7 separate regions of the Homo sapiens genome follow, and all the other regions are linked to region 4. Evidence: promoter capture Hi-C in 16 types of primary human blood cells and fetal thymus (Javierre and others, 2016). All regions are on one chromosome and are shown on one strand. The core of a region is centred on a gene start or on the middle of the fragment in contact, and the rest is flanking DNA. Distances in the headings are between cores, read along the strand shown. Region 1 overlaps LOC105369896 (a long non-coding RNA gene). Region 2 overlaps LOC105369896 (a long non-coding RNA gene). Region 3 overlaps LOC105369896 (a long non-coding RNA gene). Region 4 holds the start of PLEKHG7 (pleckstrin homology and RhoGEF domain containing G7). Region 5 overlaps LOC105369896 (a long non-coding RNA gene). Region 6 overlaps LOC105369896 (a long non-coding RNA gene). Region 7 overlaps LOC105369896 (a long non-coding RNA gene).

What was found. The method cuts DNA at HindIII sites, captures the fragments that hold promoters and counts their contacts. A CHiCAGO score of 5 or more calls a contact.
Region 1: a fragment that was not itself captured here is called in contact with the fragment with the promoter of PLEKHG7 in region 4 in 11 of 17 cell types (total CD4 T cells, non-activated CD4 T cells, naive CD4 T cells and 8 more); the score reaches 17.2 in total CD4 T cells.
Region 2: a fragment that was not itself captured here is called in contact with the fragment with the promoter of PLEKHG7 in region 4 in 4 of 17 cell types (activated CD4 T cells, non-activated CD4 T cells, naive CD8 T cells and 1 more); the score reaches 10.2 in activated CD4 T cells.
Region 3: a contact is called between a fragment that was not itself captured here and the fragment with the promoter of PLEKHG7 in region 4, in 4 of 17 cell types (non-activated CD4 T cells, naive CD8 T cells, activated CD4 T cells and 1 more). The highest score is 7.4, in non-activated CD4 T cells.
Region 5: a fragment that was not itself captured here is called in contact with the fragment with the promoter of PLEKHG7 in region 4 in 4 of 17 cell types (activated CD4 T cells, non-activated CD4 T cells, naive CD8 T cells and 1 more); the score reaches 7.7 in activated CD4 T cells.
Region 6: a fragment that was not itself captured here is called in contact with the fragment with the promoter of PLEKHG7 in region 4 in 11 of 17 cell types (M2 macrophages, total CD4 T cells, total B cells and 8 more); the score reaches 10.4 in M2 macrophages.
Region 7: a fragment that was not itself captured here is called in contact with the fragment with the promoter of PLEKHG7 in region 4 in 6 of 17 cell types (non-activated CD4 T cells, activated CD4 T cells, naive CD8 T cells and 3 more); the score reaches 12.8 in non-activated CD4 T cells.

Annotation. Positions count from the first base shown.
Region 1 is chr12:91,396,186-91,400,148 of GRCh38, forward strand. It overlaps LOC105369896 (a long non-coding RNA gene), which reads right to left. Exons shown (of 9, transcript XR_001749251.2): 3 at 2,924-3,194; 4 at 1,529-2,652. Among named protein-coding and RNA genes, the nearest start is that of LINC02823, 71 kb to the left of the region's middle. The HindIII fragment of the contact is 1,421 bases long and covers 1,880-3,300 here.
Region 2 is chr12:91,438,700-91,442,867 of GRCh38, forward strand. The region is part of intron 2 of LOC105369896 (a long non-coding RNA gene); the gene reads right to left. Among named protein-coding and RNA genes, the nearest start is that of LINC02823, 110 kb to the left of the region's middle. The HindIII fragment of the contact is 2,536 bases long and covers 1,038-3,573 here.
Region 3 is chr12:91,477,172-91,481,306 of GRCh38, forward strand. The region is part of intron 2 of LOC105369896 (a long non-coding RNA gene); the gene reads right to left. Among named protein-coding and RNA genes, the nearest start is that of LINC02823, 150 kb to the left of the region's middle. The HindIII fragment of the contact is 3,530 bases long and covers 745-4,135 here.
Region 4 is chr12:92,701,317-92,705,676 of GRCh38, forward strand. PLEKHG7 (pleckstrin homology and RhoGEF domain containing G7) reads left to right here and starts at 1,673. Exons shown (of 17, transcript NM_001377329.1): 1 at 1,673-1,816. RefSeq lists an enhancer at 1,814-1,873. The HindIII fragment of the contact is 11,169 bases long and covers 1-2,016 here.
Region 5 is chr12:91,456,483-91,460,399 of GRCh38, forward strand. The region is part of intron 2 of LOC105369896 (a long non-coding RNA gene); the gene reads right to left. Among named protein-coding and RNA genes, the nearest start is that of LINC02823, 130 kb to the left of the region's middle. The HindIII fragment of the contact is 1,678 bases long and covers 530-2,207 here.
Region 6 is chr12:91,379,084-91,382,855 of GRCh38, forward strand. The region is part of intron 4 of LOC105369896 (a long non-coding RNA gene); the gene reads right to left. Among named protein-coding and RNA genes, the nearest start is that of LINC02823, 54 kb to the left of the region's middle. RefSeq lists enhancers at 1,809-2,642, 2,643-3,474. The HindIII fragment of the contact is 1,701 bases long and covers 1,498-3,198 here.
Region 7 is chr12:91,418,497-91,422,526 of GRCh38, forward strand. All of the region lies in intron 2 of LOC105369896 (a long non-coding RNA gene), which reads right to left. Among named protein-coding and RNA genes, the nearest start is that of LINC02823, 94 kb to the left of the region's middle. The HindIII fragment of the contact is 8,988 bases long and covers 1-4,030 here.

The sequences.
Region 1 (3,963 bases), core at 1,340-3,839, 1.3 Mb before region 4:
TTGTTAAGTTTCCTGAGGCATCCCCAGCTATGTGGAACTGTGAGTCAATTAAACCTCTTTCCTTTATAAATTACCCAGTCTTGGATATTTATTTATAGTAGTATAGAAATGGACTAATACATCTACTGTAGGAGGAATGATCTTGTTCCAGAACTTAATAAATGAATGTTGTAATTTTCCCACTAACTCTTGGTATGTACTCTAGATTTTACCCACAATCAACTCTTCCAAGAGCACAAAGTCTGCTGGATTATATGACCCAAGCAGCAGGGATGTTTGCAATGTAACCTGGATCTGCTAAACAGCCTTTATCTGCTCACATTCTGTTCAAAACTGATAGCCTTTTGTGTTACACAGCATATGGGCCAAAGACTATTCTTAGGTATGGAATAGCTTGCATACAGAGCTTGAAGAGCTACAAAGTTTTGTGCTTCTTACTTTGTGGTAGGGATGCAAGCTAAATCAATTTATCTTTTACTTTTTAAAGGGGATGACCCTATTTACTGGGGGACATGGGATACCTAAAATCTTAACAGAAATGGCAGGTCTCTTATTTTTCAAAGGTTTTATCTCACTCTGAGCCCATGTCTACCAAGGCTTTGAGCTTACTACCTATTTCTTCCTGGATCAGTTTGAGTGCAATGGAGCAAGGCTATGTTCTGAGGGATGTCCTCATAGTTTTGATCTCTTTGGAGTATGACAGACGGCAGGAGACTTAACATAGCTAAGAGACAAAAATGTAAATTTATAGTTGAAGATTCCATGTGAATGAAAACTTTAAAAAAATATTTTTTGCTGATGGCATAGAAAAGAATAAAACTCTCTAGATATGAAACACTCTTCAGTGCCCTCCACTCATGCCACCCATATATGGTCATTGCAACCTCCTAATTTCCAGCAGGTAAGCACTGCCATCTATGCTCAATGTCTTCAGGTCTCTATCATCTCCATTGCTATTAACAAGTTAAGCTATGTGACAATCTCTCCTACTGTCAGCCTTTCAGAAAAGAGCCATGACAGAAAATATTAGTGTATCTGGTATCTGTCTCACCAGCACTTTCCTTATACCTTTTGTGGACTATGCATCCACTGGGCTTTCATGGAGTATATTCCTCTGCTGGGTTTCCTGGCATCACAAATTGTATACTCACCCTCCTGAGCCTTTTACTCCTCCTTCTTTTACTCCTTTTATGCCTCTGCTACCTTCTCTAGTAGTTCAGACATTTCAACTCACCAAGTCTTTCTCCAGGTTTCTGAGGCCTACTCTAGCATCCAATCTTTCCCATGCTCTATGGTCTTTGTCAGGGCATTAAATCCCGTCTTTCAAGAGAAGTCCCCCAAGTTTAAAAAGAAAAAAAATAAACAGAAAACTTTAGCATTTCTACTCATAAGTGCTAGCCCTGGTGAGCAAGTACTCTGTTTTAGTCTATTTTGTGCTGTTATAACAGAATAACTGAGACTGGGTAATTTACAGGAAACATATTTCATACATTTTTGGAGGCTAGGAAGTTCAAGATCGAGGGCTTACCTCTGGTGATGGTCTTCTTCCTGTGTCATCCCATGGAGAAGGCAGAAGGGCAAGAGAGCACATGCAAAACAGAGGGAAGGAAGTAAAATTCATCTTTTTATCAGAAACTCATTCCTGCAATAATGGTACTAATGCATTAATGAGGACAGAGTCTTGTTAACAAGACTACTGAAAAAGAAGTATCAGATTTAAAGAGGCTTTATTTCCACAAGCGGTTTGTGAACGGGGGATACACAGCCTTCAATACAAAACAAAGATGTGTTCTACCAGAACAAAGACAGGGGTTGTCCTTTATAGAAAAAGTTCCTGCTGAGGTTCCCACTATGCTATGCTGTGCAAATGAGGGATGCAAGCTTGCTTAGTTTCAGCTGGTTGAGGTTAAGTTTCACTGTGGGTCACAGGCTATTGGTTAGATCAAAGTGATGGTAACCATTGGCTCAGGAGTATAAACAGAAATAGGCAGATATGAGAATCTCACAGTTATACCAATATGTGGTTTTTCCAAGAATGAAGAGTGCATGTGTAATGTCTGGTCAGCAAATGGAACTCAGCTCCCGTTTGAATTTAGGCCCAGTTAGCCACTCAGGTTCCATCTTAAAGGATTGGCTCTTTCAGGGTTCACAGCCCTCATGATCTAACTACTTTTTAAAGTTCTCACCTCTCAACACTGTTGCACTGGGACTTAAGTTTCCAACATATGAATTTTGAAGGATACATTCAAACCACGGCATACTCAAACATCCAATCTCATGGATACTATTCTGAATCCTGAAAGCACATACTAGCTAATTATTGAACTTAATGAAATGATTATCTCTTTTCTTACTTATCAGTCCCAGTATGTTTTTATCCCTCAGCTGGGTTATGCTGGAATTTAGCCATGATTTTTAGCCTAGAAGCCTAGAGAAAAAGTGGGAGTAATTCCTGATAAACATACCATTTATCTTATGTGAAAGTGGCCTCTGAAGTATCTTCTTGCATGAGAAAATGTCTAGCTCTTCATAGAGAATGGTGGGTCAATTCTTTAGGCTCTCAAGTTGTAGATCCTTGGGGAAATTTACCCAGATGTCCTCTTCCAATATTTTAATGCCTCAAGTTTTCCCAAGCAGATCTCTGACCTTAGCCTAAGAAAATTCCTCTATGAGCATCCAATCATCTTTGCAGCTCAGTGGCCCTAAACAGCAGATCCTGAATTTCCTCTCCAGCTATGGCCACTCTCTCTCTTTGCAAAAGATAAAAACACTTTATAGGCTGCCCAAGATGCCTTCTGGCTTTTACACTTACATTTGGGCTTTTGTTAACAATGCTCAATTTTTCATCATCCCACAAATGCAACGTATTCAATTTTCATTGTCCCACAAATGCAACTTAGTAATAATTAGTCAATTTCATTACCTTTCTATGTTTCTCACGCTGGATTTTTCAAATGCATGAATATTGTCCTGGTTAGGACATTCACCTGCAACATGACATTCTCCAAAGTCACCATTGATGAAATTTTTACCAATTGAACTACTGTCTTGTGCCAAAAAATATTCATATCCCACATCCACTTGAAAGGAATCCTTATTTTCTGGTTGGTGGCAAATGATCCACTTGCATAACTCCAACTTAATCACTGATATCACAGATTGTGTCCAGTATCAATTAATGTCACTTGGTTTTTCTAGAAAGGGAAAGCCAAGATTGAGTTAGAAGTGCAAAAAAAAAATTATTGGAGAATAATACCTTTTAAACATGTAAAGGCAAAGAAGGCAGGAACATCCAAAGGAAGCTTTCACACTGTAGTAAAGGCCTGGCTCCTATGAAAGGTGAGAAGGAAGCCAGAAGATTGGATAGGATGAGCCTCACACAGCACTGCAGCTCTGACAAAATCCCAGCCAACATGATGGGGATCTCCTTTAGGAGGACTGCTCTTTGAGGAGTCCTGTGCCTGAAAATTGAGGTTCTGTTGTACCCCTGCCATACTCATTGGCTGAAAAATGTCTGGGTATCATAAGGTCTTGGTTCAAATTTGAGGCATACTTGCACCTGGAGGCTGTTATCTAATTTGTCTTCCTTTTGACAGGTTTTCTCTTGAAGGTAGATCTGAGCCAAATACCTCCATGACTGCCCTAAAGACGTCTGACTGATAAGAGTCATGGCAATAATTTGTTCAAACAGCTAAACCTTTCAGCAAAATACAAAATAACTCCAAAAGTATGAAATTAAAGAAACCATCAATACCCATTTTGTAATAAACTTCTCACAATTTTTTGCTTTTCTCACTCTTCCTCTATTATTATCTTTTTATCCTTTATCTTATTATCTTCCAGTTTTATCTTATTTTGACAAAAAAGTTTCTTGCATCTTTATATTTTCTTGAAATAAAGCTTGTCATTATATTTCTTTTCTTTTCATAGCTGTGATATTGTTTTTATGTAAAATCTATGTTT
Region 2 (4,168 bases), core at 1,056-3,555, 1.3 Mb before region 4:
CAGCCTCCCGGGTTCACACCATTCTCCTGCCTCAGCCTCCAGAGTTCCTGGAGCTTTTTAAGAGATATTCTAATATAGACATGCATCTACTTACATAGTTTGCTCTTCCAAAATGTCTTGCCTAACAAAAATTTTGCACATTGATCATATGTGTGTATGTCTGTGTGATGGGTAATTTCATGTGTCAACCTTACTGGGCTAAGGGATGCACAGACAGCTAATAATACATCATTTCTGGGTGTGTCTGTGAAGGTGTTTGCAGAAGAGATTAGCATTTGGATTGTTTGACTGAGTGGGGAAGATGCCCTCATTAACGTGGATGGGAATCCTTTAGTCCACTGAGAGATAGAACAAAAAGGTGGAGGAAGGGCAAATTTGCTCTCTCTGCTTGCTAGGAAATTCATCTTCCCCTGCCCTTGGACATCAGTGCTTCTGATTTTTGAGCCTTTGGATTGGCTTCCCTGGTTCTCTAGCCTTCAGGTTTGGACTGGAACTTCGCCACTAGCTTTCCCAGGCCTGCAGCTTGCAGCTGGCAGATTGTAGGACTTCTCAATTTCCATAACTGTGAAAGGCAATCTCTTGTAATAAAATCTCTCTCTTCATATATATATACACACACACACACACACACACACATATACACACACACACACACACACACACACACACATATACACACACACACACAATTGGGTCGGTTTCTCTGGATAATCCTAACATAAAATATGTATAAATTATATATGTGCATAAAATTATACATATATTCTACAGCTGTTAGGATAAAGGCTAACTTTCTGTAACAAAGAGATCCCAAAACATCTCAAGGTGGATGGTTGATGCTGATGAGGCTCTTCTGTTTCAAAAAGTAATTCAGGCAATCTGTCACTGACAAAGTAATTCCATCTCCTTGTTTTTCTGTGTTCTAGAGAGTTACCATTCTTGCATTGTTGAAGCTGGGTCATCCCTGTCATTGTTCCAGCCGGAAATAGTAAAGAAAGTAGAGGCAGAAGAGAGCATGCTTTTTATTTTAATGCTAAAGCTTAGAAGTGCTATTCATCTCTTCACTTAGTTATTAAACATGATCATATGAGTACATCTACCTGTAAAGGAAGTTGATATATGTAGCCCCTAATGGCATGGCTATGTGCTCAGGTCAGCTTATATGGCTACAGAAAAAGGAGAGAATGGCTTTCAGGAGAAGTTTATCAACCTGCCACTTTTATTGCATATATAATGAAATATAAAAGTGGATACAGCAAAAATCCAAAGAATAGCAACAACAACAACCACAACAAACTTGGTTTCTCAATCAGGGCCATTTTGCCCAAGGAACATTTGCTAATGTCTGGATATACTTTGGGTTGGTTCTACTGGCTTCTAGTTGCATAGAGACCAAAGACACTGTTCATCATCCTACAATACACAGGAGGACAGCCACAAAAACTACCTGGCTCAAAATGGCAATAATGTCAAATTGAGAAAATCTACTTTATATTTTTCATATTTTCAAAATATTTCATGTCATTTGGAAAAAATGACATAAAAGTTGTGTGAGGAGAACATGTTAGAGTTATTTATATTGGCTCACCTGTGTCACCCCTGCTTGACTGTAAGCAACTTTATATTAGAAATCTTATTTTGTTCTTGTGTTTATTACAGGGCAATTATTTTATTTTATTTTGTTTCATTTTATTTTATTTTTTTTGACAGAGTTTTGCTCTGTTACCCAGGCTGGAGTGCAGTGTTGTGATCTCAGCTCACTGCAACCTCCGTCTCCTGGGTTCAAGTGATTCTCATTCCTCAGTCTCCCAAGTAATTGGGGTTACAATAGCTAGGATTACAGGCGCCTGCCACCACACCCAGCTAATTTTTGTATTTTTAGTAGAGACGAGGATTCACCATGTGGGCCAGACTGGTCTTGAACTCCTGACCTCAGCTGATCTGCCTGCCTCGGCCTCTCAAAGTGCTGGGATTACAGGTGTGAGCCACCACACATGGTCTATTTCATGTTTCTGAATAAGTAATAATGAGCATGGAATATCTTTTTGGTGCCTTTTTCTATACTAAACTTTGTGGAAATTGCTTCGAAACACATGAACCCTGTTCTCAACGTCCTTGTCATTGCTTTTATTATTTCTCCGTCCTTGTCCTCCCAGATATCAGTAATAGTGCTACTCATTTATCTCACATTTGCTGAGATATCTGTATTTGAATGTTACTTCCAACACCACAGCCACATCACTTCAAAAATCCAACATATAAAAAGGAACGAGATCATGTCCTTTGCAGCAACATGGATGGAGCTGAAGGCCATAGTTCTAAACAAACTAGCACAGGAAAAGAAAAACAAATACTGCCTGTTCTCACTTATAAGTGGGAGTTAAACCTTGAGTACACATGGATACAAAGAAGAGAACAACAGACACTAGGACTACTTGAGGGTGGAGGATGGGGGGAGTGAGGATCGAAAAACTACTGATGGGGTACTATGCTCATTACCTGGGTGAAAAAATAATCTGTACACCAAATCTCTGCGACATGCAATTTACTCATGTAACAAACATAAACATGTATCACTTGAATCTCAAATAAAATTTAGAAAGAATTAAAAAAAAAAAAGGGAAGTCCAACCTAGAGACACATAGCCTTGCCCGTCACATTAAGAAGTGCCTCCCTTCACTTACTTTTCCATGAAAGAGTAAGCAAGCCAAAGCAGGAAGCAGTTCTAAATCATTAACTTCTTAACAACTCAGCTCAGATGGAAACAAAATTAAGATTTACAGGACCAGAAAGGAGGTGGTTGTTATTTACCTATTCAAAATGGGAAATGAAAGAAAATCCCAGGCTTTCCAAGATCCTGTGGCATAACCGGTATACTCAAAAGGCAAAGAAGAATGAATGAGCGAAATGAGTATTTGATGAATTTTCATACGAACTTTTGACCTTCTCAAGGATGGCAAAGTTGCTTTTACATCCCATGATCCAGCCTTGCCAACAATTTCTATTTTTTCTTTGTCTTCTGTCTCTCTCTCCATCTGTCTCTGTCAGTCTCTTTCTGTCAGTCTCTTTCTTTCTCTCTCCCCCTTTCCTCCTTCTCTCCCTTTTCTCATGTTTCCTCCTTCTCTCACTTTTCAAACTGTAGCAGCTTTCATTTTTAAGCTATCAATTCAACATTGCCCCTATCTGATCTAGTGACCTGTTGGGAAACTTTCTTAATCTATGTCAGAGATTATGAAATATGAAGGCTCATCTCTCTCTCTCTCTCTCTCTCTCTCTCTCTCTCTCTCTCTCAATCTTCATGTGCCCTCTAGCTTACACAGAAACAAAAGTTTGATTTTTCGGCATTGATTCAGTGTTCTCCATTGGGGGAAAAAAGTATTATGATCATTATCAACAGCACCATAAGGAATCACATGAAAGGCAACACTGTGCATGGAGCTTATTGAATTGCAAACAGCTTTCTCAGAAATCAAGGCCGCCCCAATGATGCAAATCAGATGCTTACATAATGCTGTTTCCTTAGAGGGTGACAAAGGAGTGATGGGATTTAGATGCCCCTTTGTGGTGTGGCAAAGCTTTTCTGTCTTCTTGCTTCAAGCAGAATATTTTGACATATTAACTGGATCAGCACAAAATGTATCTAAAGCTATTGAATGCACATTTTTTTTTTGATGGAATGTATACTAAACCTCTTTCCCAGGGATTTGAAGCAGCTGGAAGCTGCTATGACATTTCTGCCCTTTTTCTCCTCTTGTCTTTCCATATCCCTTCCAACCCTTTCCATAATCTATAGATATGCATATTTGGAATAACAGTGCTGGTCACAGAATGAATGAAAAAATAATCCATCTCTTTCTTACTGGATTTCATAATTTTGCATGTCATAATATTAGTTGTATACACATGTGCTACAGTGTTTTGTTTTTTTTTTTACAGATGGCACATTGAATTGGGACCATTGATCCAGTAAGTCATATTGTATAAAGCCAGATTCCAGTTTGACATGTGCTATGCATCACCATACATCCTTAAGAAAAATGCTTGCTGTGTATACACGTGTCTTCCCAGCAGCTGATTTCTGAATATGGGCATTGATGCATGGCATGTATTAGAGACTGGAATATATCTCCTACTGTGCAATCCAAATGAAGCTAAGTGTATTTTCTAC
Region 3 (4,135 bases), core at 1,260-3,759, 1.2 Mb before region 4:
CACATTTATAGCACTCGAAATGGCATTTGGTATATAGTTGGTACTCAATGATTACTTGTTAAAACTTATTAGCCATGTCTGATACAATCTAAAACTATAGAAAATTTAAAATTCATTAGACAATATGAGACTTTTGTAATATTTAAATGTTAAAATAGGGGACAATTTCCTAAATTTTTATTTTCATTGATAGAAACTGAGGTTGTTATATTGTCTAAAGTAACACCCACTGAAAATGGAAACAATTAAAATGTAAATATATTAAGTGGCAACTAAAAAGCATGCTTGAATTATTTTTCCAGGAATAAAGGAGTTGCTATGTGCAAAGAGTGTTTCTCAGTCAAAACCTAGAGTCATAGTCTAGGCCTCTGACCTTTCTTCCACCCAGACCCTCCAGCTAAACCTTGCTCATCCTCTCCCTTCCTGCCTCTGTATTTTGGCTCACACTCTTCTTTTATCCAGAACACCCTTGCCCAACATCTATGAGATAAATTTATCCTAGAAATCAGAAGCAAAAAAAAAAAAAGGCTTTTCAAGTGACCTTATTATGTTTTATTCAGTGGACAACTAAAAGTACATTCTTTAATTTCTTTTATCATTTTTTCCTTTTTTTTAACAACTTATCTCCAAGTTCTATAATTCCTTTTTTTTTTCTTTGTTGTCAGGAAGCTCAGAAAACAGTTTAGTATTAAATTCCCATTTACTACAATTTAACAAATATAAAGTGAATAATAAAAATAAGGAAGCTTCTGTACTGGATGCTGCAGAAGAGAGAGAGATAAATGGTTCAATCCATCCTTTAGGCAGGGGGACAGTCCAGAGTTCTTGTTGTAGGGAGAGAAGCTAAGGCCAATGAACAAACAAGGTGGATAGGACAATAACCATTGATGGTTCCTGAAGACAGAATTAAGGGGAGGCAAAGGAGGAAAAGAAACATTCAGGTCTGGAACTCTATAATCTGTATAAAAGAGATGAGCGTTTTGCATGAACATTTTGGCTGAGTTTTCGTTCAAGTTTTGGGGTAGGAAGAGAAAGCATTTCAGGTAGAAAAGAAAAGCAAATGAGATATGTAGGGCTTATCAAATGGTCTGCTTTGATTGGAGCAGAAGATGTGTGTTAGGACAAAGTGTGAAATAAGCACAGAAAGGTAGGTTTTGCTGTATGTTGTGCATGACTTTCAAAGCTATGATGAAGAACTTCAGTTTTTACTTCATGCCAGTTGTTTTCTTATCTTCCTGCAGAGATTTATTCTGTATGTTAATTTAAGTATTTTTTAATAAATGTTTCCTGTTTTTCTAATGATTTAAATTACCTCAAATTCATTTTGATGGTAGATAGATATAAACACTATAATGTATAAATGTTGCTAAGAAAAAAAACTCTAATAACTTTCATTTAAAAATATCATTCAAAACAGTTATCTGATGTAGGATAGAAAGGACATAAAATGACAACTCAGTTTGTCTAGAGCATCTGCAAGTCACTGTATAATGTATTTTTCCATGTTTTATTTAATCAATGAAAATCTGATTAATAAGCATTTTTATCTTAATTGTATAGAAGATATTCTAAAGTTCAGAAAAATTAAATGGCTTTCCCAGAGATACAGAGCTCGTAAGTGTTCAAATTCAGATTGGAACACAAAACTCTCTGACCCTGAAGCTCATTTTTTCCCTATGACATTGTGCCATAACCAATATAACAACTAAGTTATCAATTCACTCTGATTTTTACATTTTTGCTGATTATCCTGACACATTTCTGCTTTTATCCATAAGAGTATTTAAATATGGATATAATTCGTCAACAGATTTAATGGAATGGTACAGAATGGAATGGTACAGAATGGAAACTTGGATGATGGTCGTATTTACTATTTTATTTTTTGAAACAGCTGAGATCATTTATTTTGAGAACAGAAGCTGCCTAGGTATGTAGTGAGGCTGTTTTGTCATTGTCTCTGCAGATGTTGATTGACAATAGTTGTCCTGAAAGTAGCCACACAGACCAGTCTTCTTGGCGAAGACATCATAGCAATTAACAAATTCTAGACCTTAGAGGAACACACCTAGAAAGACATGAGAATTCAAGGTTCTTTGGAATTCAGAAGATGGTTGTTTCTCCTGTTAAAGCTCTATTCTGTTCAACAAGGCAAAGTAACATCAATGAAATTTGTTTATATAAACCCCATAACTATAAATTGAAAAAAAGAGCTAGTTTCTCTCAATGTAGTATATATGTCATGACTGAAAGACTTAATTCCTTTTCCTGTGCATGTATTTACATTTCAACATAGGGTGAAGCAAAATATAAGCTACAAAATGTGGAAGACTGAGGGACCCGACATCCCTCTGTCAATCTCCTGGTCAAACACCTTCAACAGCTACCAATTACTATGGAAGAAAGCTCAAGTCCTTACGGTGGTATTCGACATTCTCCACATTCTATTTCCATCTGCTCTTTCTAATATTCTTCTCATTACAATTTTTCATGTACCCAGCATACCACCTAAATGGAAATATTTGACATTTCCCCAAATAGTCCTGTGTCTTCTGGGTAATATAATGAAACTAGACAGGCTTGGGCCCCGCCCCCATGGAGCTTACAGTTCACCTTCCATTATATAAGCAGGTCTTGCTGGGCTTTACCAGCCTGTGAATATAAATGGGACCAGACTAGTAGCAATAATAGTCTGCTCCTGCTAAGTAGCAGACTCTTTAGCTTCCTTCAAAGTCTTTCTCGGTTCCATCTGAAGAGTCTCAGATGGTTCTCACTTAACACACAAATCCTCTTTTCTAGCATGTGGCACTGGCCACATTCTTTATCAGCACCCCTTCTTGACTGCCCCAAAGCTACAGATCAATCATAGGCCAAAACAGCATTGTATTTCCCAAAATCCTCTGTGGTTCACACAGAAACAGAAAAATGTCCCTGTTTCCCTCTGCGTGTCCAATTTCCCACCTAGGCATGAAAGTATGTAACTTGTGAACATGTATTGTAGGATCCTGCATTAAATCCAGCAACTTCCTTTCCTGCTCATAGCTCGTCTCAATGTAGCTGAAGTGATTCTCTTTTGATAGTAAGTACAGAAGATATTTTCATAAGAGACATTTCTGATACTGTTAGGGTAATATTAAATATAAGTATTCTTCTGAAAATTATTCTATGCTTTGGTTACCAGCAGTCTGCTCAGCCTTCAAATCTGTGTTCATGTGTCAGGAAAATTATTTTCTTTTTCTTGACTAATTTTAGAATAACTGTAGAACAAAAACTAGAAAGACTTCCCTGTAAGGAAAGGATTTAGTGGAAAATATATGCAGTCATTTGTGTATATTATACTCCATAATGTCAAATGGTCACTTATTGTTTGGAAAGTCAGTGGAGTCAGTCTTGGGGACCAGTCTCTGACAGACTCCAAGCTGCTCTTCCCGCTCTATCCTCCTTCATCTTCCCCTCAAACTGTGAGATCCTGCGTGGGGTCCTTTAGGCTCCTTCAGCCTCAACTCCTTGAGTCAAGTGGCAAAATATAGGTCCTGAGAATTCATCCTACCTGCTAAAGGAAGTCCGCACTGCAGCAGGAAGCAGAGACCAGGCCATAGCTTGGCCCCCTGTTTCGGTTTTTTACCTATGTAGCTTTTCATCCTTTTTAGTTTTAGAACCTTTAGAAAAAATAACCAGAACTAGGTTCCCTATAAATCCTAGGACTCCTTGCACATAGTATTCACTTGAAAAATGATTGTTGAATTGAATTTTTAGGGTCAAGTTATACCCACTAACCTCAATTTGTTCTAAATTAAATATTACCACATACACTTTATATCTAACCTTAAGTCACTTAGGAAGGAATATAATCTCATAAATAATTTCAAAATATAAAACTGATTGTTTTTGTTTCAAAATGAAATAGATTTTCCTGCTCTTTATTCAGAAGTATGATGTTGTGTAGACACTGCCTTGAAAGTAGTTGTAGAAAGTACCTGAATTATGTTACAAAGCCATCTGATAGAAAAACAATTATATTAGTGTTACTCACATGATATTTGACAAGGAATGCTTAAACCATTAGTTCCCTGGAGTACTTCTAAACTACTGTTGCTGGAGACAGAAAGGAAATATAACAGTGGCTATATTTTAC
Region 4 (4,360 bases), core at 423-2,922:
CTTGACAAATCAGATGGAGGTGGCACATTTTTTTCCGTGATAATCTTTTGTGACCTTTCTATAAGACTCTTAATTTCCTTCTTGAAGTTACAACCAGAGGTTGGAAGTTTTTGCATTGGGATCAAGTATTCCATTATCATTATCCCCTAGGAGAGACAGCTTTACAATCCCATGTGCGTGAGGGGATTGGTAGAAAAGAGTATGACCTTCCTTCCACAAACTAAAAGCTAAAAGACTTTATTCATTTTTTTCCTTCCCAAATTGAAGCAATTCACTTCTAGACATCCTTGGCAGGAGCTCAGAACTGTTTATGCAGGCTCCATGCAGGCAAAATATTTTTTGATATCCTGCTTTTGGTTGAGTCATGGTAATGTTGGCAATGGTGGTGAGGGCAGGAGATCAAGTCATTTTTCAAAGTTCTAAGTAAATGATGTTCTAGTAAGATCAATATGAGAGAATTAAAGACTAATATAAAGTTTATCACAAGGCCAACATCTATAAGTTAGACCTTTTTTTCTTTTCCTCTAAGGGCAGTGGTTCTCAAATTTTAACCCATGTAAGAATCACCTGGAAGTCTTGTTAAACACAGACTTCTGGCTGGGCACAGTGGCTCACACCTGTAATCCCAGCACTTTGGGAGGCCGAAGTGGGTGGACCACCTGAGGTCAGGAGTTCGGACAGCCTGGCCAATATGGTGAAACCCCGTCTGTACTAAAAATACAAAAGTTAGCCGGGCCCTGGTGGTGTGCACCTGTAATCTCAGCTACACAGGAAGCTGAGGTAGGAGAATCGCTTGAACCCAGGAGGTGGAGGTTGCAGTGAGCTGAGATCGTGCCACTGCACTCCAGCCTGAGTGACAGAGTGAGACCCTGTCTCAAAAAAAAACCACGGACTTCTGACCCCATCCCAGAGTTCCAGGGGTTGGAGAGCATGGAGGGGGAAGATTTTTCCTTTCTAACAAGTTCTCAAGTCATAGTGATACTGCTGGTCCAGGGACCCTACTTTAAGAACTACCGACCTCAGGGAACCTTCACAGTAAGTATCTGTAATGAGTCCAATCAATGAAAACTTCAGTGAATTAGACTTCATTAGAATTACTTCAACTTTGTTTTGGGAAAGTCTATAGACATTTTTGTTTAATGCTGCATACATATGCATTATCTCCACCTAGGCATCAAATAAATATTCTTTGGGGTACTGATCTAATGAGAATACTGGTAGATATAAATGCTCTTCCATTTGCATTTTAATTATTTGAAAACTAATGTTCACAAATTCACTCCCTGGTGCTCTAATCATTTCCTCTACTATTCAATGCTTATCAAAGCAAGTCATTAATAAAATAGATCAACACAAAATGTTTTATGATGTGAAGAAAGTAGAGTCCCAAAGAATGCATCTCACAACCTTAGAGAAAATAAATGAAATAGAAACCTAGAACTGCTTCACTGAACTATGAGTGATGATTTGTTGAATGCCTCAAGAGGAAGTAAAAAGTTACATTTGCATCATTTCTGTATTTGATCAGCCGTTGTTTACCTGACTTGTTCTTAGGCTGCCTTAGATTCTGAGCTGGCTTCCCTTTAGGCTTTTTCATAAACAAATAACTGGAAATGTCTCTAAGGAGGGGAGAGACCAGTTCCTCATTGCAGCTGGTAGCAAGGTTGCTTTCACTCAGCCAGGAGGACGCATTGTTACAGGTGTGGAACTTGTTGCTCCGAGCCCTCGCCTGGCAGCTCACTCTGGATCTGCGGGTTCTGAGGAGCCTCGGGACCCACCTGGGTGCAGTTGCCTTCAGGGACAGACCATCTTACAGGTATTAAAGGCAACATTCAGCTGCTTTCTGGGTTTCTCTCTTGCACTTTCCTTTTGTCCTATTGCTATCAGTTTCGCTTGTTTTGCTGATCTCTCCAGGTCTCATTAGAATTAGTGAATCATTAACCTGCAATGGTTTCATTTCTAGTACAGTGAGATGGCTTCCCCAACAGTGTGGGTGGGTGTTTGCTGGATTCTCAAAGCTTGGAAGGTCAAAGGTTGGTGAATTTTCTTTATGGTGACCATGTATTAATTTCCTCTTTTAAACATAAAGAAGAGTTAGCATGAATGGATTGACTTGTTAACTTTTGATTCTACCAGATCCACTGGGTGTAGTCATTTAGGGAAAGCTTCCCAGGAGCCTTAGCCATTATCTCATTTAATTTCTGCAACAGGCCTGTGAGGGAGGTTCTTTGATGTCCTCTTGGTAAATGCTGCATGGCAGTTGGCAGAGGAGAAGTGGCTTGTCCTAGGTCACACAGCCAATTGGCGGTGATACTGGAAGAGAAACCAGACCCATTTCTTCTGGTGCTTGAGCTCTTCCTGCCTTTCTGCAAACCACCTCCCTAAGCCCTGCTGTTTTTAAAGTTTCTCCATTTCCGCAGTGCATCATGTCGGCAGTTACTATTGCCTTGGTTCCAATATTTAAGACAGTGGCTAATAAATAATTCTTACCGATGTGAATCCTATTGGCCATAAATAACTTCCTACCAGCAGCTACACCCCTGTGTCTGAACGACTACAAAGGAAACCCAAAGCCGTATCCTAACCCCTCAAAAGAGGAGAGGAAAAGGCCAGAAGGACAGAGGGGAAACCCAAAGACTAAGAAATCTGATCTAACTATTATGCAAGTGCCTATGCAAATATACTGAATTCCTTTAACATTGTTGCTGCCTAGAACTTGGACAGTCTTCTAAAGGAGAAAAATAATAGAACGGCCCTGATTGTATGTATGTGTGAAAGTACCTATTGATTCAAAATTAGCTGGGTGGGGTGGTAAGCATCCATAGCCCCAACTACTCAGGAGCACTGCAGCATGAGGATTCTGTGAGGCTAGGAGTTTGAGGTTACAGTGCGATATGATCACACCTCTGCACTCAGCCTGGGCGACAGAGCCAGACTCCATCTCTAAAAAGAAAAAAAAAAAGAAAGAAAGTACCTATAGATTTGATGCTCAGCTCAGCATTTGTTTGTTGGGAGAATGAGGAACTGGCCTCTCCATGTAGCAACAATGTACCTTATTTTATCAATGGTAGGGAGGGACCATTTCATACCTCTCCAGCAATGTTGGTATCAACCTTCAGAGCAGCCTCCAGGAATTACCAATCTAAAACCAAAACTAGTACAATCTCACCTTAACTGAACATAAGTTTCCTAAACTGGCATTGCCCTCTTTCCTCCACTCTGCAAAAAAGGGTACCTCATGGGTTTTAGTTCTACATGTGAAGTTCTATAACAATTGAGTCCTCAGCTCAAAATAAAGCAAACACAACATTAAGAATTTTAGATTTCTTTTGTGAATAAGAGTTGAATTGACGTTAGTTTGCATCTAAGTTGTTCCTCAAACAACTCACCAGTCTGAAATCCAGTACCTGTTAGTTTCATTTGGCATTTTAAAAAGGTTTTTATAGAGATGGGGTCTCACTATGTTGCCCAGGCTGGTCTTGAACTTCTAGGCTCAAGGGATCCTCCCGCCTTTGCCTCCCAAAGTGCTCGGATTACAGGCATGAGCCTCTGTGCCTGGACTTACTTGACCTTAAACAAGGTAAGAGTCAGGGAGTAAAATAAGAGACCACAAAGTCCCCAAAATCAATGTCAAGTCACAACATTGTCATGACAATGTCATAACATTGAGCTCCTCCTCTACTGATAGGAATAGATCTAACAACCTATTAATTATCTATTCACAAGGTTGTTGGACTTCTATGACTGACACAGATTAAAAGAAACAAAGAGGAGAGAGTGGTTGCCATAGGCAAGTACAAAAAGCATAGTGAGAAGTAAGGAATAAAAATTAGGGAGTACATTGGTGTGGGGCCATTTGGTGTGGGAGTGAATATTCAGATGCTATAGAAGCCTGTAACAATTATTGTATTCTCCACAGAACTATAGTAAACATAGTAGTAATCACTGTATTTTGGCAAAGTACTAGAATGATAGTCAACAGAATGAGGTCAGGTTATAAGGAAAAGGTTTATTGGTTTTCAGCCTTCTCTATATCAAGTTAAAGAAGCAAATAATACACCCTAGAAAAGTTCTACTAAAAAGTATTGCCCATGCAATTAAAATTATAAGAAGTAAATTATTAGCCATTCTTAAATTTTGGCTATCCAAATGTGGGCAAAGGGTTTCAGATTGCTGAGTTCTGCTTTAGAATGATAAACTTACTAAAACTATTATTGATGATCTTGGAATATACGGTCAACTACTAATGTTCCATCCACAAACAATCCACGCACAGTCTGAAGCCACCTCCCATGCCATCTGCGGCCAGGGAAGATGGGTCTCTCGCCTGTCCCACAGTCCCACACCTGGTCTGCAAATC
Region 5 (3,917 bases), core at 119-2,618, 1.2 Mb before region 4:
CGGAGTTTGCAGTGAGCCAAGATTGCGCCACTGCACTCCAGCCTGGGCGACAGAGCGAGACTCTGTCTCAAAAAAAAAAAAAAAAAAAAAAAAGGCTTCAGGAGGTGAAGTCACTTACTCACAGTAACCCAGACAGTGTCGGGATGTCTCATTCCCAATGTTCAATCTCATCCTTCTAAAATATAAGTTGAAATGCCGAAGACAAAGACAGCATGGAATATATGTATTACATTCAATTTCTTTGCAGCCTCTCTATAGAGGGAATGTGGCATTCTCTCAAGAAATTTATTTTGGAGTCACAAGACTCCTGGCTCTGTGATCTCCTACCTCTGTGCCCTTTGGTCACTCCTCTTTCTGCATTTCAGTGTTCTTCAACGCAAAACAAGGATAACTAGCATACTAAACAGTCTATCTTCAATAGAGTAAATAAAGTCGCCATTTATTCTTTCTTCTCCCTGCTGACTTCAAATATGACTTTGCTCTCTTTGTGTGGGCTTACTTAGGGCTCATAGAGACCAAAAGTAGAAAAAGCTTTTCTTTCCTGTTCTTGATCTGCTCTGAAAATCTGTTTCTTTTACCTCCTCCTCACACTGCTTCTAACTATTCTGTGGTCAGGAGCTAAGAAAGGGTGCAAAGTAAAGTGGCAAAAGCCCCTCCTCTGTTGCTGGGTATCTCTGCGCTGCACCATTTCATGATGTAGGTAATAGACCCTCTGGGAGACGTTTCACAACTCACCCTTCTCTCCTGGCAAAAAAAGGAAAATGGTCCATTTTTCCTCTTGGCAGGCATCTGAGTCCTTTCAAAAATATTCAAGCCTGCCTAATTTACTAGGTCTTCAGGTGGTCCATGTGAAAACGCATACCAGCTGGCCCTGACAAACTTCAGGAGTGAGGCCAATTCATTGCATTCTTTTTCTACGGGCTGCCATTGAGACCTACTCTAGGCAACCTCCAGCATTCAGAACTCTTCAGGCAAGACACAAGCATCATTCTCTGCCTCTGCAAACTCCAGAAGATAACTCCAAGCTGGAGATATCTGTTCTATATCAACATGAGCAGACTTAGGCATTTTTGTTGCTGCCAAGCATCAAGCAAGGAATTAACAACATGTTAGTGAAACATTAATCTCCCCTTTTAACACAAATTCTGATCTCTCTGGGTGGTTATTGGGAGACAACCTTACCAGACTAGAGAGAAAAGGGAATGTGATAGTCTTATATATACCTACCAGATTTGCTCATCAACTATGCTCTTCAACAACCCTCTAACCTACATTTACATTGGCTACTGGGAGGTATGATGACTGAACTAGTCTGGCCATTTGAGGATAGATCTGCTGCTTCTTTTTAGATAAGTAACAATACTTCTTCGTTGTCTCAACTTTCAGATGTTAAATGAAATTTTGAAACCCAGCAAAAGTCTTACTGCATTTTCTACAGTCCTCTCATGGTTGTTGTAATAAGCATACCATTTTCATATTGTGGTAACTTATTTTGTCTTTCTATTAAATGCTGGTATAACATCTCTTGTGTTATGGGATAACTAAAGCATAGAAAGAGGAAATGTCTTCTTCCAATAAAGGAAATCAGTGATCTGGTTAAATCAAGTATTTAAAATAATATGAAGTAAGAATATGTGCTACAGCACACTGCAGTGCTCAAACAATTAGAACATCCAGGGATCCTAGACTGTCTAGAGCTTTCTATGCCTGGTAATTTGTGTGGCATTATAAAACTCAACTACAGTCTATCTGATAGATCCTCTAAATTGAAGGTCCAGTATACCTTCAACCCGATCCTAGAGTTAGCCATAGCTCTTGTTCTTGGGAAATACCTCTCGTCCTCTGGGATGATGTACACAATAAAGCATTCATGGTTTTAGTGGCAGCCAGAGGCCCACCAGGCCTGTGCGACAATGGTACTTGGACTGAATAGTTTGCAGTCCCCTCAAGATATTGTACTAAGAGCTCTTCCAAATGTTTTGTAAGTTCTTTGCCCTATTCATAGGCTTTTGGGTGTTTATTTTCACAACACCATTCTCCTCTTGCACTTTCCTTTGAACATTTTCAGACAAATGAAGACAACATTCTATTAAACAACAATAGTAATTCTGATGTGAAAAATGCCCCGGATTTGTAGGTATGCCTCATTCACTAATTAATATAACATCCACCCTGGCAACTAATATTTTGAGACTTAACATGTACAAAGCTTTGTGTTCTGTGACCCTCATTTGTGACAAGTTGCTTCATGTCTTCAGGTTTTTGTTGATTTATTTGTAATATGACAGAAACTGGAATTGCATTTGCAGTGTCTTCTGAGGGCCTCTTGTATTCTGTTGAGATGCTCAAGAGCCTACATGGATAAAGATGTAATGGGACACGTGAATTGCATGGGGAAACTCAGTAGCCTCTTACCCAGTCAGTGAAGGAGCTCAGCTTATATCATTTTATGTATAGGGCTTCTACACAAGATTGATTTTTGAAAAGGGAATTCCATTCCAAAACCACAGGATTGGAATTTCCTTCTGATTCTATTTATCCATGATTCTATGAAATAGCATATGGATTAAAAAACTCCTGAACACCAGAATTTAATTCACATATTATTCATGACATGGGGTGAGATTGGAGTCATATGAAATTGCTCTGATGCTTGATATCACCTACTCAATGTTATTTAGTGAAGAAATAATATTAAAAAACAAACCGCCTCTTTCCATACTCATCCCAGACAAGGAAAAACTGGATTTTAAATACATATTATGTGGTTCAAAGTAACCTCAGAAATTGGTATAAACTTGTCAAGTGGGCAAAGAAATATGCTTCAGCCCTTATCACAAGAAGACAAAGAAAGAAGTCAGCCATGATGTAACTAAATATCTGTGATAGTCTCAGTGGAATCTATTTCCATAGTTCCTGATTGCAGCTCCTTTAAGAAAAGAAATGGCAATGTGCAATTTATTTCTATATGAAAAATAGATTTATTTTTGCTTAAGGATAACTGAATTTTTTTCTAGTCATGCATGTAAAGATGAAAATTATACTCAGTTAAAATGCTATTGATATTTTCTATAGTCATTCAAACTATATAGAATTAAAATCAATGAATAATATCAGGACAAACAGATTAAATACATATAAAAATCTTCATTCTATTTCTAAACCTACTGTGGAGTTAAAACAACAGCAAGAAAAAAATTTATATTAGTTTTAATTTTCATTTTTTTCCATTTGTAGATTTACTAGAAGGTATAGAAGATCACCGAATATTTTTGACAAATTAGTCTTACATTTTGTGATTAAGGCATCTGTAATATTAAAAAGATGGTTCAAAAATTCCATTCCTGGTGACTTAAAATGAAATCACAATTACTGCTTTGTCTTCCTGCTTGGTTAAATGCAGTGTTCCCACCACATTTGGATTGCTATAATAAGTGAAGCTTAAAAAAAATGCATATACAAAAACTTGCTTGCAGTAACTTTGCCTGACATTCATGCAAAATGCAATTAAAAGGTTTGAATTGTACAGGTGCTAAAAAGAAGTGTATTACAAAACAAGCAAACCATAATGTCAGAAAATTCAGTTTGGTTATTAACATTTTATTATCTTAATTATGACATTCAAGCATTGTAATCCCAGGTCTATTGCTAAGGAGACGAGGTTATAAAGGTAGGTTGTCAAAATCTTTATCAGAGAGTAATTTTAACATGTTTTTAAAGAGAATTTATTGTTTAATTATAAGGGTAATATAACTACAATCTAGAAAACACGTAAAATGGTGAAAAGAAAAATAACTGCCTATTATCCCAGCACTCAAACCACCATTATTATTATTTTGGTGGAGTTCCTTCCAGGCTTTCTCCATAAGCTTTTATTAATTATTTTGTTTACAATTCTAATGTGTATGCATCACATT
Region 6 (3,772 bases), core at 1,098-3,597, 1.3 Mb before region 4:
GTATGAGGAATTTGGGAGTGAGGCAAAGAGGCCACAATGTAAGGGAGAATTGAAATACAACTCGAAAGCCTGGCATCCATGAGGTGAGAGGAGAGCAGGAGATGCCAGAGTTACCCATTACTGACTTGGCTTACTTTACAGAACACAGGAAACTGTTGCTTCTAAGAAAATATCTATTTCATCATAAAAGAATTACAGCTCTTTTGTACATATGAATTTAGCCTGTTTTAATTTTGCCTGGCATTTTGGCTTTGCAAATCTTTAGGTATGAGTGCTAAAGTGTTATTCCAACCATTTCACTCTTTCCCAGTGAATGTTAGAACAATCACCTTTCGGTTAATAAACATGCAGTTTTTTACAACTACTATCACAAGTAACAGTTTAGTGTGTAGAAAGAATCAATGGTAAATTTTGGTGTTTCCAGTAGCTCAATATCTCATTTATCCTTTAGGTATCTGGCAAGCTGTCTTTCCCTTTTCTGGTCACCACTCCTCTGGGGATGTAGCCAAGTACAAAATTGCACATTTCTCCTCCCACAAGTGTCTCAGCTCCCACAGAAAACAAAATCTACATCAAGCATGTTTAAGATGATCTACATGTGAAGTAGAAAGGTTAACACACAAGAGGAGTAACAGACTCATTTATTTATTTATTTTTACCTTCAAGGAGTTTAAATACAAACACAGAGAGAAAACTGAAAATAAGCATGATTCTAGAATTTGTATTATTGTTATATATATATTTTTTAAGTAGATAAGCATAAAACTAAGGAATTGCTCAGATGACCAAGTCTGGAGCAAAAACATCTGACACAGGAAAGTGAGAAAATAAAATGGGGGCCTTGAGTAGAAAAATTTCAATGGGTTAATTTCTGCTGGCGTTCAACATGTTATGCCATAGCAAACAAATAAGAATCATGCTGGGTCTCAATTTATCAGATTCCTTTAATTTACTAAGACTGCATATTAAACTAAATTGTTAGCAGCTGGTTGACTACCTCAACCTAACTCAACTCCTGGGAGCAATTACAGAGCTTCTCAAAATCTGTCCCTGTGTGCATCAAATTGATGTTGGAAAGAAAAAGATACCTCTTTCTAAAGTACTTTATTTCAGCCTTTCAAATTCACCTTCTGAAACCTAGGTGACATTCCTTCTAAACACTGTATACGGTATTGCTTAAGACAAGGAAAGTTTTCCCCCAAAACTATTTGTGCTCCCTTCACTCTGGTAGAATTTTTGGTAAGTTCTTTGGCCTATGCCCACCATATACTAGGCCGCCCTTGCTCACAGAAGGCCACAGCAAACCCCTTCTGCAAGCCCACGATGGAATCGTAAATCTTTACAACTTATTGAAGTCTTCCAGATTTTTAAATATGCCCATGATCCAGACTTTTTGCTTGCATGTTTAAATGGTTGCCTGATGGCTTGCAACAAGAAGTAGAAAGGCATTTTTCTTAAAATAAGCAAACAACCATGGCAAATGAGGTCATATTCCCAAGCTTGAATAATAAATATTGCTAAAATCTACAACCTGAAACATATTTTAAGAATTAGACATAGATTTGGGTTTTTTCTTTCTTTTTCAGGAAGGGGTCTCCCTTGCTGCCAATAAAAATTGCTTTGTGTTGTAAAATTTGGGTTCAGCTTGTCTCCTCCTTATATAAGCCCAGTTGAATAGACTGCTGAGGGAAAATCAAAGTTTAAGAGCCTGGCTTTTCCCGTTTGGCAACTTTCATTTCCTGATAATATCGGATAATTAACAAATTGTGTGTTTTAATGCCCTGTCTCTTGAAGCGCATTTGGGAAAAATACTTCTTGTGCCCTCTGAGTAATGGCTTAAATGGAAGAACATGCTCAAAAGAATGCTTTTTCTCAATGCATGAAACACACTCAGCATTTATTATTTTAATTGCTACACATCATGTGTATACTCGTTCGTGTAATTATATACATATTTAAAGGGCAAGAGGAAAAGATTATTTTAGGACTCTATAATTCATTATGAGCAAGGCATTGAAAATTTCTAACTCAAGATGAAAATTCATAAAAATTCTTTGGCAAAAACACCTTAGTATTCTCAATACGGTAACTGACTTTTTTTTTTTTGCGTTATGAAATAACTAGATACTACCGTGCGTTGCTTTTGGATAAAAGGGGAATGCTGTTTCTTAGCCTTTCTGTCTCTTTACTAAATGGATAATTCAGGACTGGGAAATGCAGCTCTAAGTTTGTTGTTTACGAAAAACACATGCTAATGTAACAGCGTATGAGGAATTAAAGAGAAAATGTCAAACGCGCCTTGACATCCAAAATGCATTTAGCTGTTGGCTTTTACTACAGGGCCTTTCACTCTCCAGCCGACCCCCTCCAAGACCAAGTGTTTTTGCGTGTTGGGCTAAAAATAGCCAGCCAAGCCTAACAACTAGCTTCTGATTGGCTCAGAGCAAAGGCCACTCAGCCAATAAGAGCTTCTGGGAACAAAAGCAATTCTTTTGTGTGAGATACTCAACCCACGTCAAAACAGCTTCAGGCTGTAGAAATGATTTTGGTTGAGCTTTAACAAGGTAATAATGCATTTCAGCCCTCTGAAAGGTTTGAAGCGGAACAAAGGGAGTAGTGAAATCTACAAAACAAATGGAGCGCTCAAGGCTTTCATGGGATGAATCATCCGGGTGCCTGAGCTACAAACAGTTGCAAGCTCAGAAAAGAAAAAGCGCTAGGATTTTCTTTCTTTCTTCCTGAGATTTTAACTTATTTTTCAAGCGAAAAACAAAACAAAACAAAAACAAAAAACTAACGAAAAGCCATCAAAGGCGTTGTATCTTGACTATGCCCAAATTTGTTATTATGCTTATTTGATGATGAATAAAAAGCAATTCTTCCACGGTTCCCTTAAATCTCACAAAGAGAAAACAAATGTATGTGTAGTAGATAGTAGGTAGTAAAGCTCCCGAAACTTTGGGCTTTCGTTTTTGGGCACCAAAAGCAGCCCATGTTTTCAGAGTAAAGGCAGGTCTTGATTAATGCTGTGATAGTTCTCAAGGTAAGCAAATTACAGCAGCACTTGATTGGAGAAAAGCATTGAAGTTTTGGAGGTTTTGGCCACTTTCAAGGCATTGTGCCTCTAGGGGTCGCTGTTGGACAGCGGACGAACCTCTTCAGGGCATCCTTCCCCCTTTAATAGTCACTAAAAGAAGAAGCTTAGTAGGCGCCTTTCAGGTAGAACAAAAGGGAGTGGGGAGTCAGTGTTTGAGACCCTTGAGCATGGTTTATGGTCATCACTATGGGACAAAGCATCCCATAACAATGCAGATTACTTTATATGGAAATGAAATGCCATAAAGGACAAAATGTTGCTACAGTAACCACTGAAAATGTTACATAACACATAGGAGCTCATAGGCCATTTCATGGCCTTAAACTGGCTTTATTGTATGGAAAATAATTAAAAGATGATGTGGTGCTTTATAGGCTTCCTTTTTAGGAAACAGAAGGACCCACACTTTAACCTCTCACATAGGAAACCTGTATAGGTTACCAAGTCCTGAAGTTGGCAGAGAAATACAGGTCACAAACAGACTGTTCCCATGTTCTCCTCCCAGAAAACTATGGATTCAATGTAACTTTTTCCCTTGAATATAGCTTTTATGATAAACAATTAGTAAATGAATCCTTAATTAAGCTTTATTCCTGGTGTGGCACAACAAGACCTAAGAAAATCAAACATCTCAGTAAAACTGAAACATATTTTTATTATCTGATTGGTTATAAT
Region 7 (4,030 bases), core at 1,362-3,861, 1.3 Mb before region 4:
ACACACACATACACACACACACACAAACAATTATATTGTACAATTATTTCTCACCAAAAAGAAAATAAATGTATTTCAATTTTAGACACAAAATCTAATTGCAAACACACATGTGCATATATAGTGTGTGTGAGTGAGTGTGTGTCTGTGTTTATTTCAAGTAATTGGCTTATCATGGTGGTTAGCTAGGCAAATCCTCAATAGGACAGGCTGGAAAATCTCAGGCAGGAGCTGAGGCTGTAGGACACACATTGAATTTCTTTTTTTTACAGGAAAACTTCAGTTCTTTTAAAACTTTTCAACTAATTGGATGTGGCCCATCCAAATTATCAAGATTAATCTCCTTTACTTACAGTCAAGGATTGTATATGTTAATCACATTTACAAAATACCTATACAGCAACACCAAGATTAGTGTTTAATTGAATAACTGAGTATGGTAGCCAATCCAAGTTGACTCATAAAATTGTTCATCACATGCTCTAAGATGTTAATCCCTTAACCATAAATTTCTTAAAGCATACTTTTGAGGATCTGGATGTATAATCAGCTTTTCCAATAGAAATCTCTCCCAACACTTTGGTAACATCTTTCATATCAAAATCACAGTGAATAAGGATTTTAAAATGAAAGACATTTTGTCTTCCTGAAATGTTGTAAGATTCCACACCATGGCAGCTGAGCAGGCTGACCTCTAGGCCATTTATTGTGGTTAAATAGGCAAAAAATAGTAGAAAAGATTTTATTGCTCTAAAACACCCAGCAGGCAGCACAACTATCAAATATCTTTACATACTTATAAGGAAAAACTATATTTCCTTCCGTGTTACCTCACATTTTTGATTCTAGATAAATGATTTAATATTCATTTTATATTAAATACCTAACTTTTCTATATTAAAACTAAATTGAAAACTTATTTTGCAAGTCAATAGTAAGCAAAATGTGAGTCAAAAAGCCCAAGTTAAAAACCACTGTATAAAGTTTGTTAAATACATGTTAAATGAACACAAAATATAAACTGTTATCCCTCTTCATTTATCAAGCATAAATGCTCTTGTGTTTTATTTTCATCACAGAAAAATATAATATTAAATTAATGGTGGCTTGTTTCCTCCCTCCCTCCTGCCTTGGTTCTTAAATGCCGAATAATAGTGTCTACTCTCTTGGTTTTTTAAATGTGGGCCTTGGTGTGTCTTGCCAACTTTTCCCTTGGGAGTTAGGGAGCATCACTTCTGCCAGCACTCCATAAAGATGTGAGAAACCATATTGATCAAGAAAGGCAGAATGGCCCATGGACTCATTGCAATTCATTATTGATTAGGCCACTCTGTCATGTTAACTGGAAACTAATGCTTTCACTTGAGTTTGAAGTCACCCTCCTTTCAGGTGGAGGGAGTTTGGTTTAACCCAACTGTTTTTCTAAGTGCATATCTAGCTCCAAGTCTAACCACAATGTTCTGCCTGTATCCTTAATGCAGAGTACTTCTAGTCATCTTGAACAGGCCAGCTGTAACCCATAATTGGTACTTTGAGGTCCAGTGTTTCCCTCTGACCACACAATGGAAGGTTGGAACAGTTTTGTAATTCAGAGTTATGCTTTCATCAAAGGTGATTTTGCTTTCTTAACACCATTTTCACCCCTGCTCTCTCTCCTAAAATTATTTTTAGTACACATCATAAACCAAAAGTAATCTCATTAGCTGCTCTGAGGAAAATATCTCTCATGTGAAGTAATATGATGCTGAAATTTCAGGATCATTGTAACTGTTACAAAGATGTGTAGTTCAGTAAAGATGATAAATTATGAATTAATATTACATTGAATAACAAAATGTAATCTAATTTTACAGAAAAAATTGGAAACATGGTAGGAGAATAAAATAGATGAGTAAACTGAGGAATGGGAAGATACCAGAATTACTCAGATTCCCCCTGCTAGGCATGGCAATTTTTAATGCCCCATTACTTGTTATTATATCACCAGGTTGGTGTTTTGAAAAGTATTTCTAAATGTTTCTGCAAAACTCCCCGTGGATAAGATTTTTAAGACAAGTATGTTTGATAAAACCATATATCATAACCCCTGCCAAATAATACATAATGCACATTAGTATATTAAAGACTTCACAACAAAGAATCTTGAGTTCATGTTGCCCAAACTTATTTGAATGTCTTTCTTATTATATTTTTATTATTGTTGTATGTATTTTTTAGGCAATTAATAACCTGAGGATGTAGTATTCTCTGGAACACATTTTAGGCAATATTATGCCAGCTTTTACAGCTGGTGTAAAGGAGTTGGGGGCAAAACCAGGAAAATATTGCCCATGGAATTAAATGGGGAAAAGAAGTTTCAAAGAAGGGATAGACAGTAGTGATTCACAGAAAGTAAAAAAGAGAAAGGGTGGCCAGGCGTGGTGGCTCACACTTGTAATCCCAGCACTTTGAGAGGCAGAGGCGGGTGGATCACATGAGGGCAGGAGTTCGTGACCAGCCTGGCCAACATGGCGAAACCCCGCCTCTACTAAAAATACAAAAATTAGCCAGGAGTGGTGGTGTGTGCTTGTAATCCCAGCTACTTGGTAGGCTGAGGCAGAAGAATTACTTGAACCCAGGAGGCGGATGTTACAATGAGCTGAGATCGAGCCACTACACTCCAACCTGGGCGACAGAGTGAGACTCCATCTCAAAAAAAAAAAAAAAAAAAAAAAAAAAAAAAAAATCCCAGAAGGCTTAAAAAAAAAAAAATTGAAAGGCTGATTTTAAAATTTATAGAAAATGCAAATGACCTAGATTTCCAAGACAATTTTGAAAAATAACAAAACTGAAGAAATAACACTACCTGACTTCTAGATTTTATAAAGGCATTGTAATAAAGGTAGTGCAGCATTGGTGCCATGATAGAAGACAAATAAATCAATAAGTCAATATTCCAGAGACAGAGGAAAACTTGAATCTTTATATTGAGAAACCTTCCTGAGTATTCAGCACAATATATACTTAAGTAAATTTACAATTTTGTTTTCTTTCTAATATCTGGATGTTGAACCTAATTATTAGGAATTAGGGTGGGGATGTCCTAAAATTTTGTAATTTTTGCATAAATATATATTGTGCTACAATAATTGTTGTATCCAGATATGACATCTGGGAGTTCTAAATTCCTAAATTTTTTCTATAAATCCTGTCAGAAAACAGGATTATTTAAAATCAGAAGAAAACAAAGTTTAAAAAACTTTTCTTTCAAGACTGCAAACCAAAATTATAAAATAATGTTTAGAGAAATGAAAATATGCTAAGCACCACCCCACCCCAAAAAGGGGAAGTTTGATAAACAATTTCATGCTGGAGGTTATCAATTTCAGTAAAAGAGTAAAAGCCACCCTAGCTGCAAAATGCTAAAATGGAAATTTAGAGAAAAGAGGTGGCCAGAAATGGTCATCATAGGGTGAGAGACAAGAAGCCAACTACCTTAAAATACAAACGTCTTGGACTAACCATAATGTGTTTCATCTGTGATACTTTGTTTTACTCAGCTGTTGCGTGACCAAAATTAGAATGAATATTGCTTCTTTCTCTGTGAGAAAATACAACCAAGTAGGTTGCCGCTTCCTGGTCTGGATTGGGGTAAGTGGTCCCTTCCTCTGGGTGCCTTGGGTCCTGCTTGTTCATGCTGTAAGACAGCAGAGAGAGTGGGCAGAATGGGATGGCAGCTCAGGGAGTCCTGCATCCTGCCTTTATGACAGTAGATAACAGCCAAGAGAAACACACCTTTGCTCCATGCACAGGCTTAATGTGCACCACAAGGATACTGGGCTTAGCTCTGCTTTGAAGTCAGGATCTAGCTGGTTTCTTTGTTGCTGTTTTTTAAGGCACCACATAGTTTATGAATTGTGTGCAATGTTCAAGGTAATCTATTTAGCACACGTGTTTGGTATTCTCATAATCCCTAATTGCTGGCATTTCCTAGAACTTGGATCACTCTTCATCAGGCATCAGGATTTTTCAAAACACAATTGTTGAGAAA